Regions from separate parts of the Homo sapiens genome. Here regions 1 and 2 are each linked to region 3. Evidence: promoter capture Hi-C in human tissues and cell types (Jung and others, 2019). All regions are on one chromosome and are shown on one strand. The core of a region is centred on a gene start or on the middle of the fragment in contact, and the rest is flanking DNA. Distances in the headings are between cores, read along the strand shown.

Region 1 (3,433 bases), core at 303-2,802, 36 kb before region 3:
AGTAGTTTCTGCTGGTTGAAGTAAAATTCCCTGACTGGTACAATAAAATTATTTCCTGTGTGAGTCACCTTTTCTCTAGACTATACTGTGTTAGTGTCGTCAGACTTTCCTTGAATGAGTTGTTTTCCAAATCACTCTCCATCTCACCCTCTGATCATTATATTGTGGAACTCACAAACAGCCCCCACACTTCTCCTCTTTGGTTGTAGGGGTGGGGAAAAGATATGAACACAGAATTTTAAATTAAAATTATTTTTTTAATTAAATTTAATTTTAATTTTTTAAATTTAATTAAATTTTAATTTAAAATTCTGTGTTCATATCTTCCCCCACCACTACAAAAGTAAGCAATTAACTTATTTGCTTATTGTATAAGCAATTAATTAATTTAATTTACATTTACATTTAAATTTTAAATTCTGTGTTTGTGTCTTCCCCCCCGCCCCACAACCGAAGAGGGGAAATGTGGGGGCCGTTTCTGAGTTATATCCACATTATAATGATCAGAGGGTGAGGTGGAGAATGATCTGGAAAACAACTGATTCAAAGAAAGGCTGAAGACACTAACAGTACAGTCTAGAGAAAAGGTGACTCACACAGGAAATATTTTATTTTTCTACTATTTGTTCTGGAACATATGCATTATGCAGGCAATAGGAAAGTGTTTATATTTTACTTTTTAAAAAATGTTATTTTAATCAATCTATACTCAGTGATTCTATCCTATTCTGATAGAAACATGGAAAAGTGGGGCTAAGCCTCTTTGAGGACAGCAACAGATTGTAAAATTTTCCTTGTATTTCTCTGATAAACCACTGCATAATAATTGTGTTTTGGCTATACTTGTCTCCTGAAATATGTTTAGTGTGGTTTGAAAAAGATTAGACACACAAAAAATTATTGGCTCACAGACCTAGGGTTGAGCAGTTCAGATCTTGAGGGATGAAGATGCAGAGGCCTCCTTGACAGTGACACTGTGTCTCTGGAATACAAGCTTTGCACATCATACTTTATTTTCTGGGACATTGTCCCCAGCCCAGCATGTCCCCTGCTAAAGCCACCTCCTCCTGCCATTCCTGGCTTAGCTGGATCTTTCTCTGTAGCTTCAGTACCCTGCTACATACCTCTCAACGCCATGCATTTCCCCTTCAAGATGATTCAGTATCTGTCCTTGTTCATCACCATGAGAGTAGAGAGAGTGTTGATCACAGCCAAATCCCCAACATCTAGCTATGTGCCTGGCAAGTGGCAGGCTCTCAAAACCTAGTGCACTGAGTTGAATTGGTAGAGAAAGATGTAAAGAAGAAAATCCACAGATTTTTCCAGAACATATGCATTATGCAAGCAATAGGTATGTCTTTATATTTTACTTTTTAAAAAATTATATTTTAGGCTGGGCGCAGTGGCTCACACCTGATATCTCAGCACTTTGGGAGGCCGAGGCGGGCGGATCACGAGGTCAGGACATCGAGACCATCCTGGCTAACACGGTGAAACCCCGTCTCTACTAAAAATACAAAAAAAAAAATTAGCTGGGCCTGGTGGTGGGCGCCTGTAGTCCCAGCTACTCGGGAGGCTGAGGCAGGAGAATGGCGTGAACCCGGGAGGCGGAGCTTGCAGTGAGCCGAGATCGCGCCTCTGCACTCCAGCCTGGGCGACAGAGCAAGACTCCGTCTCAAATAATAATAATAATAATAATAATAAAATGATATTTTAATCAAACTCTACTCGATATGATTTGGCTCTGTGTCCTCACCCAAATCTCATCTTGAATTGTACTCCCATAATTCCCACGTGTTATGGGAGGGACCTGATGAGACATAATTTGAATCATGGGGGCAGTTTCCTCCATACTGTTCTCGTGGTAGTGAATAAGTCTCATGAGATCTGACGGTTTTATCAGGGGTTTCCACCTTTGCATCTTCCTCATTTTTCTCTTGCTGCCCCCATGTAAAAGTGCCTTTCACCTCCCGCCATGATTCTGAGGCCTCCACAGCCATGTGGAACTATAAGTCCAATTAAACCTCTTTTTCTTCCTAGTCTCGGGTATGTCTTTATCAGCAGCATGAAAATGGACTAATACAATACTCCAGTCTGAATATGCTGTAGGAGAAACAGTGAAGGAGGCCAGATTGGAATGCTCAAGCTTTCCAGTGTGAGCCTACCTCGCTTTGGAAAACAGCTTGAGCTGCTTTAGGTCCTCAGGCTCCCATCACTTCCCGACCCTCTCCACGGAGACCAGCTCTCTGCTAGACTTTCACCTTGTCCCTGGAAAAAGCCCAGAACTCCAAGTTCACAGCCAAGCTTTTTCACTAACCCAGCATACAGCCTTCGGGAGGTCACTTTAGCCTCTGTGGGCTTCATTTCACTTACCGTCAAATAGGCAGATTGTACAAAAGGACCTTGAATATTCCTTTCACCCCAAAACCCAGGAATCTAATTAGGATAGAGTTGCAGTGGGATTTTCCCATTAAACCCCAATCTGTGTAATGAAAATAAGACCAGGCCCTGCAACTGTCAGAGGGGAGCATTATTCTTTCCTAAACTACCCTGTCAATTATAACAGCAGAGGGGCTGCACCATGCCATGTGGGGTTTGAATAAATGCGGATCATGTTGGGTTTTTCTGTTGTTGTTTCTCCTTTGTGTTACTTATCTAAAATTCAGGTTAAGCCAGGCATATGTAATAAGTATTTGTGCTTTCTGGAAAGCAGCTGTAATGATTTGTGAATGTCTTCGTTGTAAGTTCAAAGCATCTCCTAGAGGCTCATTTTACTCAATAAAATCACTTCCTCTAAAAGCTCTGCCCATGTATTTACCACCTTATGGAGAACAAATAATCACACAGACATTTTCTCTTTTATGAAATTCCAAACATGATTTAAGAGGGTCCTCTAGGGGAAAAAAATGGTGAAACCGGTATTTTTTTAAAAAACAATCTGGGGAAGTCATTCATTAATTAAAAACTAAATTACACTGACAAAACTTTACCCTAAAACACTACCAAGATGTATTTTAAAGCACTTCATAAACTCCTAATCATTTGCAACTGTTAGCACTCTGTTCCAAGTGAGGTTTTAGAAATTAATCCACACAACCACACGGGTCACTAACGTTCCTCATCTCATGCACTGAAAGCAAGAGATGGACCAAAACCTCAAATTATAGGCTGTAAAAAAAAAATGCTGTAGGAAAATCACATCAGGATTCAAACACTTTACGACACCCACCAATACTTTTAAAAATTTGTATGGAAGTATAATAGCATACAGACAGAAAAGTGCAAAAATGGTAAGCTTACAGCTTGATATGTTTTTTACAAAAAGAACACACCACTGTCATAAGCATTCACAGCAAGCAACAGAACACTACAAATGCCCGCTACACCCCCCATCTGTCTCCTTCCAGGAAGTACCCTCTCCTGTGTGACTTCT
Region 2 (3,392 bases), core at 51-2,550, 62 kb before region 3:
GCACTATTCACAATAGCAAAGACTTGGAACTAAACTTCTTTTTTTATAAATTACCCAGCCTCATATATTTCTTTATAACAATGCAAGAAGGGGCTAACACACCTTCTTTTGAAACTATGTATATGACAGTGTCCCCAACTAGTATGTCTCTTTTTAACTGTGTTTTATGGAAGCATAATTCATATATGATGAAGGATACAATACTTACAATTCTTAAACATACATCTTGATGGCTTTATACCTCTAAGTTATGCCTGTGCAAGTTCCACCCCAATCAGAATTTAGAACAGAACATTTCCTTTTCTTTTCTTTTCTTTTCTTTTTTTTTTTTGGAGACAGGGTCTCGTTCTGCCACCCAGGCTGGAGTGCAGTGGCACAGGCTGGAGTGCAGTGGCACAATCTCCGCTCTCTGCAATCTCTGCCTCCCAGGTTCAAGCGATTCTCATGCCTCAGCCTCCCTAGTAGCTGGGATTACAGGTGCCCACGACCACGCCTGGCTAATTTTTGTATTTTTAGTAGAGATGGGGTTTCACCATGTTGGCCAGACTGGTCTTGAACTCCTGACCTCAAGTGATCCGGCCACCTCAGCCTCCCAAAGTGCTGGGATTACAGGCATGAGCCACCGTGCCCAGCCACAACTTAGAACATTTCTATCATTTCAGAAAGCTTCACTCTCCTCTTTCAAGTCAGTTGTTTCTAAGAATTTAGCATTTTCTCTTTTTGATAGGGCATTAGAAAGAAATAAGTTCATAAAAATAATGACTATGGTAACACACTCCCAAGTCCCTGGATTGGAATTGTGGTTTTCAAATGTGCTGATAGAGAGGGATTGTTCTTTACAGGTGGTGGAATGAGCATCTAACTGTGAGTCAGGAGACTCAGCTCTTCCAAATGGAGACATCAGTAAGGAAGTCCTTGCATTTCTCCTCATTCAAATCCTTCATATGTGAAATGAGCATTTGGGGTCAGAGAGCTGAGGGTTTTTTCAGCTTTAGGATTGGAAGCATTTGTAAATACTTAAAAGAATAAAGATGCTTATTACTTCTAAAACCCCAACAGTGTCAGACACACGGTAAGTGTGCAAATAATGTTAGCCACTCATTACTATCACCATCATCATCATCATCAGCCTTTCTTAATCGTTAAAGGATCAGAGAGATAGCTTTACTATTCATATTGTTTTTTCAAAATCGAAAATAGCGTTTATTTTCCAGCTATATGAATAACACACGTTCAGTGTTTCTGAAAATTCAAAAAGTAGAGAAAAGAAAAAGAAAGAATTTAGGAAAAAACTCTGAGACCCTCATTACCATTTATAGTTTGATAACCAGCTTTTCATTTCTCTTTCTTTCTCTGTATATTTACATATATAAACTTTCAAAGATGTTTTATTTTGGACACTTTTATCTGTTTTGTCTTTCTCCCCCTACCTCCAGTTCCCTCTTTTTCACCCTTCCAGGTATCTCATCATTCACAAGCTGGTATGGTATCCATCCACAATGTTCTCTGTGTTCACCTAATCATACATATGTATGTATTCACATATAAAAAGGATTTTTATGTTGTTTTACAGCTATAAATGATATATATTCATTTATATAGACATACATGTAGATATATATGTAATATATAGCCATATACCTGTGTTTTTATTTTTCTTTCTTATGACAACTAAAGCCATTAGTTATTGTACACATAATATGTTTCAGGCACCTTCTAAGCATTTAGATTTGTCATATCAACTGATCTAGTTCTACTACATATGTTTAAAGGCAACTTGACACTGCCTGGAAAGAATGACCATATATTAAATCAATGGGTTGTTAATATGTATTCATGATGTTTCAGATATTTTTCTACTAAAAATGTGGTAAATAACAAGTAAAAAATATTCTAGAAGTGGAATCTCTAGGATGAAGGTGTATGTGTTTTTAATTTTAAATATATTGGCTGCCAGGTGTCGTGGCTCATGCCTGTAATCCCAGCACTTTGGGAGGTCCAGGTGGAAGGATTGCTGAGCCCATGAGTCTGAGATCAGCCTAGGCAACACGTTGAGACCCTGTCCCTATAAAATATATATATTGTGTTAGCCTCCTCCACTGAGGGAGAGGCAGAGTAGTTTTGGTCTCACTGTATCAGGAGTTCCTGTGACGTTCTGCTGGAGTCCCATCACATTATGTAAAAGTACGGTGGATGACACCAGAAAATGGGTGGGGGGGGGGACATAAATGTAGCACCTTCCACCCCCAGCAACTCCCCAGGCCACCCCAATCAGAGCCCTGCATGGGAGGATTCCACTCCCAAAGCTACGTTTGCATGCACACATGGCCCATATTTATAAGGTTCCACTCTGCAGAGTATAGAACTCAAGTCCAGATGGGAAAGAATAAGTCACAACTAAATTCATTGATGATGATGCAATCCTAAAAGAGAATCTTGGGAAGGTAGACATATAGGGTACAGATATTGCCCTGAAAAATTCAGTGATGTCCAAAGCTTCCAAGATGCACCTTCTAGACTATGTATTCAGTTTCCTCCAGGACTCCAACAAACAAAAGCATACAACAATGAGGGTCTGCCCAGCCCCTTTATTCAGTGTGGAAACAGATATCTGATTCTGAAGGGCTGCTGGCAGGCATGAAGATTTGGATGAGTAGCTCACCCTGCCAAGAAAATGGAGGCAAGCTGGCAAGAGCAGAGGTAGAGCCCTTCAGCAATGGCCTTTTCAGAGAAGAAATCCCCTCCCACTCCAGAAAGGATCTGCTCAATACCTGAGTACTCTCCAGGAAACCTGAGTGTGCCACAGAAGCAGCACCATGGTAGGAGCTTGGCCACTATGGACAGCAATGCCAACATCTACCGCCTGATACAAAAGATGGAGATAATGGTGAACCCACTCTTTCAACATGTCCTAGCTGCTTAACAAGGTGAACCTGCTTTCTGTGGAGCAGAACTAAGAAGCAGATGAGTCCCACGGAGATAAAGGCTAAATCACAGGTACTCACTTGCCCCCAAACACAAAACATGGCAATTAAGTTCCAATATATTGTGGACCAGAACTTGGATGCTGTTCTAGTCATCTACTGCTATGTAAAACAACAACAAAAACAAAACCAGCAACAAAACATCTCAGTAGTTAAAACAACAAAAGTCATTTTGCTCATAAATCTGCCATTTTGACAGGGCTTGGAGGGTACAGTTCATCTCTGCTCAATGTGGTGTCAACTGAAGCAACTGGGGTTGAGTATCCACTTTCAAGGATGGGTCACTCTTATGGCTGGCAACTTGGTGCTGTCAGCTAGGAGAAAAGCCAGAGTTGGCATCTGGGGCTTTAGTTCCTTTCCACATGAGTTTCTCCACAGGTCTTCTTGAACTTCCTCACAATATGGACA
Region 3 (3,410 bases), core at 716-3,215:
GCCCAAGTGGGGATGTAAGTTGCCTCCAAGTATATAATGCAAAGTCTCCAGCCCCTCTCAAAATCCCACTCAGCCCACCCAGTTTCTCTGGGTTCACACCCAGTTCAGTCTATGAACTCCAGCAGAAGTATGGCTCCTGCCCGCCTCATCAAAGGCAATGTCCCCTCTGCTGCCCTCCTGTAGCAGATGTGAGAGTGACGGCCTGCCCAGAATCTCCTCTGCTCACCTGCAGATGCAGTTCCAGGCACCATGACACCTCCCATCCAAGGCCTGAAGCTCTCTTCTTTTCAGCCTTGGGCTTTCTGCACCACACCGGGACACAACTCAAAAGTGAGGGAAATTCTGGCTCTCAGGGAATCTGTCCATCAGTAGGGGGTAGGAATCGATGGCTGAATGTCCAGCCTCCCCGCGCTGCTGTGAACAACCATGAGGCATGTTCTACACGGTCTGCAGGTCAACTGGAGTGAGCCGCAGTGGCACCCTGCTCGTTAGCATATCGTGTATGGGCCCTTCTCCCTTCCCTGCCTCACTTCCCCTCCCCCTGTGTGTGCTTCCCGGGATCTGCTCCCAATAAACTACCTGCACTCAGGTCTTTGTCTGGGAGTCTCCTTGGGGGAAACCTAAACTAAGACAACTCCCCGTAGCACTCTGTTGCACTGTTTTCTAAGCACCCACTGTCTCCCTGGGGACCACATGTCCATCCCCAGAAAAAGCTCCTACTCTGCTGAGGGTGGTCAGGACTTGGAGTTACTACAGCGACATCTGTGGGTCGCCAGATCTGTGTGGAAGCAACCATGCCTTAACTCATCTCAGAGGATTCCATGAAAGCACCAGCGGGCAGATGGTCCCAGGGGTCTGTTTGCCCCCATTGAATAGGGCAGGCATGGTCCATGAGCGAAGAAGCCTCTAGCTGAAGTTGGTAAGTATGCACTATTGCAAAGAATGTGTCCAGGGCGTACAACTGGCCACCCCATCATCTCCCCCACTCAAGCAACAGAGCTTTTTTGCCTCCATATCTGGAAGTTGCCCTGAGCATGTAGAACACCTGCCCAATCGCAGCCCCTCCCCAGGAGGAAAGCAAACAGCTGGCTCTCTTGCCTTTGATCATGCGGGAGAGATGCTAAGAGGTAGGGAGAGTGGGGTCAGGTTCCAGGTAAGGTGGGAAAAGCAGAATCACAGAATGTCACAACCTGAAGGAGTTTGAAGTTCATTTATCCAAAAATTTTTAATTGGCAGCCTTGTGGACTGTGTTCAGTCTGAGACAGGTTCTCTTTGACCAAAACAAGATTTTTGCTTTAACGAACCCAAAGACTATTTTTAAAGTTCTCGAATTCCAGATTCTCTTGAAAACAATGGGAAGCTCTGACAAAGTGGAGTCCATGTTCCCACCTGCCAATAATCCGCTGGCTGGGGTTTAACGATGGGGAACACCTTTTTAGACCTTCAGGGTCCTGCCACAGGTTCAATCCTGTATGCCCAGAGCTTCCTGGGCACCAGTCATTTGAATGGGCAGTTCCTGTGTTTAACCAGGAAGGTCGTGGGAGGATTTCGAACCTGTCAGAAGCAAAGTGAAGGGCTCCAGACTCTCCGGACAGATGGGCTGAGGCACTCCTGGGATTGTCTTTATACGGCCATGGAATCTGATAGTGGTGGTCATCGCAAAGTTTGGGTGAGGACTTCAGGGGCTTTGAGCAGAGCAAACTGTCCCCATCCCCAGCTTCCTCCTGGGGGCCTCCTCCTTCACCGCCATCTCCAAAGGCCCACACCGCACTCGTCGGAGCCGGGCTTTCCTTGAAAGGGTCACCTTCTAGTGGGCGCGGACGCTGGCACTGGGCACCTCCGGAAGACAGGACTCTCCCCTCCTGCGCGCGCGACCCGGGTGCGGTGCCACGACTGGCGGCAGAGGGCGGTGCTCACTGTTCCCAAGCGCACGGTAGAAACCCGGCTACTGTGTGGTCCGATTCAGACGGGATGCGAAGGCGCTGAAATCCGTGCGAGAGGCTGCCCCCGCTGCCGGGGACTCGCGTCAGCGCGGCCGGAGCTACGGTGCCCGCGCCCTGGACGCACCAGCCCGAGAGCACGCGGTGGGGTGGGGGAGCTGGGCATCCACCCTTGGCCTGGACTAGGAGGCAGGCGGGGACCCCGGGGCGGAGTCCAGCGCGGGGCGGGGCGCACAGGTCCGAGACGCTGGAAAGAGCTGTGGGGCCGGAGCGCCAACTCCAGCTGGAACCCAGAGACCCTGACACGCCGGAGGAGCCCGCCGGGGCGAGGAAAAAAGAGGGACATCCCCCACGCAGCGGCTCTGCAAGTGCAAGTCCGGGTCCTCGAGGTGAAAACCGAGCGGCCCGCCTGCGCCCAACCACACTGTGACTCTCGATCCGGCTTCCGGAGCAGCAGAGCGCACAGAAAGGAGGCGCCGAGACAGGTAAGGGCTTAGATCCCTGCAGTCCCGGGACTCAGTCGGTGCGGTGGGGGAGTCGCTAGGACAAGGGCCTCTGACGCCCACTTTTTTCTCGGGCATTCCGGCTGCTTTGCCTCCCGCCACTCTCGAGATATGCGTCGGGGCTGGCTCCAAGCAGGCGAGTTGGTTTCAGGAGATCCCCTCTGGGCCCTCTAGGACCGGGTAGGGTACGGTAAGCGGAGTCTGTGGTGTGCGGGCGCGGGCAGAGGGAGCCAGCGGGTAGCTGAGCTCGCGGACGAGCTCCAAATTGCAGGGGAGGGTGCAGGTAGAGGGGCACCTTCCTGAAAGGTGAGCAGGAAACAGCAAGCGTCCGTGGGGAAATTCCCGCGCACCGCATCCTCCACCCACCCGCCGTTTTCTTCCAGCCAGGAGGCACCGCAGCCTTTGCTTCTAGAGCCTGAATTTCTGACTTGATTCCTGTCTTTGCCAGGATGTCGCCTCTAGACGCCGACAGTGCGGCCGCGTTGATGGGGCGGGAAGGGGGCTGCTGGAACGGGTCGCTCCCGGGCGGGGAGTGCAATCTACGAAAATGCGGCTGGGACCTGTCCCAGCCCGGGCGCGCGCCCTCTTGTCTTGGGTTAGGGGGCTGGAAAGCCGAGGAGGGGTAGGACTCCCCATTCTTGGTCCCACGCTGAGCAGAGGCTGCGGGGATTGGGGTGTCGCATGAGACGGAGGGGCGACCTGGAGAGAAGACACCTCCGGGTGTGGACGCCACTGGGATTTGCATCTCGCCTCTTGGAGGTTTTCACCTTGGGAAAGCAGCTGGCGGGCGCACCCCAGGTTAGGGTGTCTTTTGCTGGCGCGCAGTTCCTGTCCCTCGGCGTTCTCCTCCCCTCGCAGGAGTGGACCAAATGCATTGTTCAGCTGGGTCATCTCCTTGCTACCCAGCATCCCGCGGCGCCCACATGTGGAGTCGTTTCCAGGTGTGCTGAGAGGCGAGGGGAAGGCC

What was found. Contacts are between HindIII fragments. The study calls those that stand out against the background at their distance.
Region 1: a fragment that was not itself captured here is called in contact with the fragment with the promoter of PROKR2 in region 3 in 7 of the 25 tissues and cell types used here (H1 embryonic stem cells, aorta, heart right ventricle and 4 more).
Region 2: a contact is called between a fragment that was not itself captured here and the fragment with the promoter of PROKR2 in region 3, in 3 of the 25 tissues and cell types used here (aorta, pancreas and stomach).

What each region holds. Positions count from the first base shown.
Region 1 is chr20:5,350,939-5,354,371 of GRCh38, reverse strand. No RefSeq gene overlaps it. Among named protein-coding and RNA genes, the nearest start is that of PROKR2, 36 kb to the right of the region's middle. The HindIII fragment of the contact is 4,632 bases long and covers 1-3,433 here.
Region 2 is chr20:5,376,712-5,380,103 of GRCh38, reverse strand. No RefSeq gene overlaps it. Among named protein-coding and RNA genes, the nearest start is that of PROKR2, 61 kb to the right of the region's middle. The HindIII fragment of the contact is 3,338 bases long and covers 1-2,969 here.
Region 3 is chr20:5,315,509-5,318,918 of GRCh38, reverse strand. It overlaps PROKR2 (prokineticin receptor 2), which reads left to right and starts at 1,965. Exons shown (of 3, transcript NM_144773.4): 1 at 1,965-2,425. The HindIII fragment of the contact is 13,355 bases long and covers 1-3,410 here.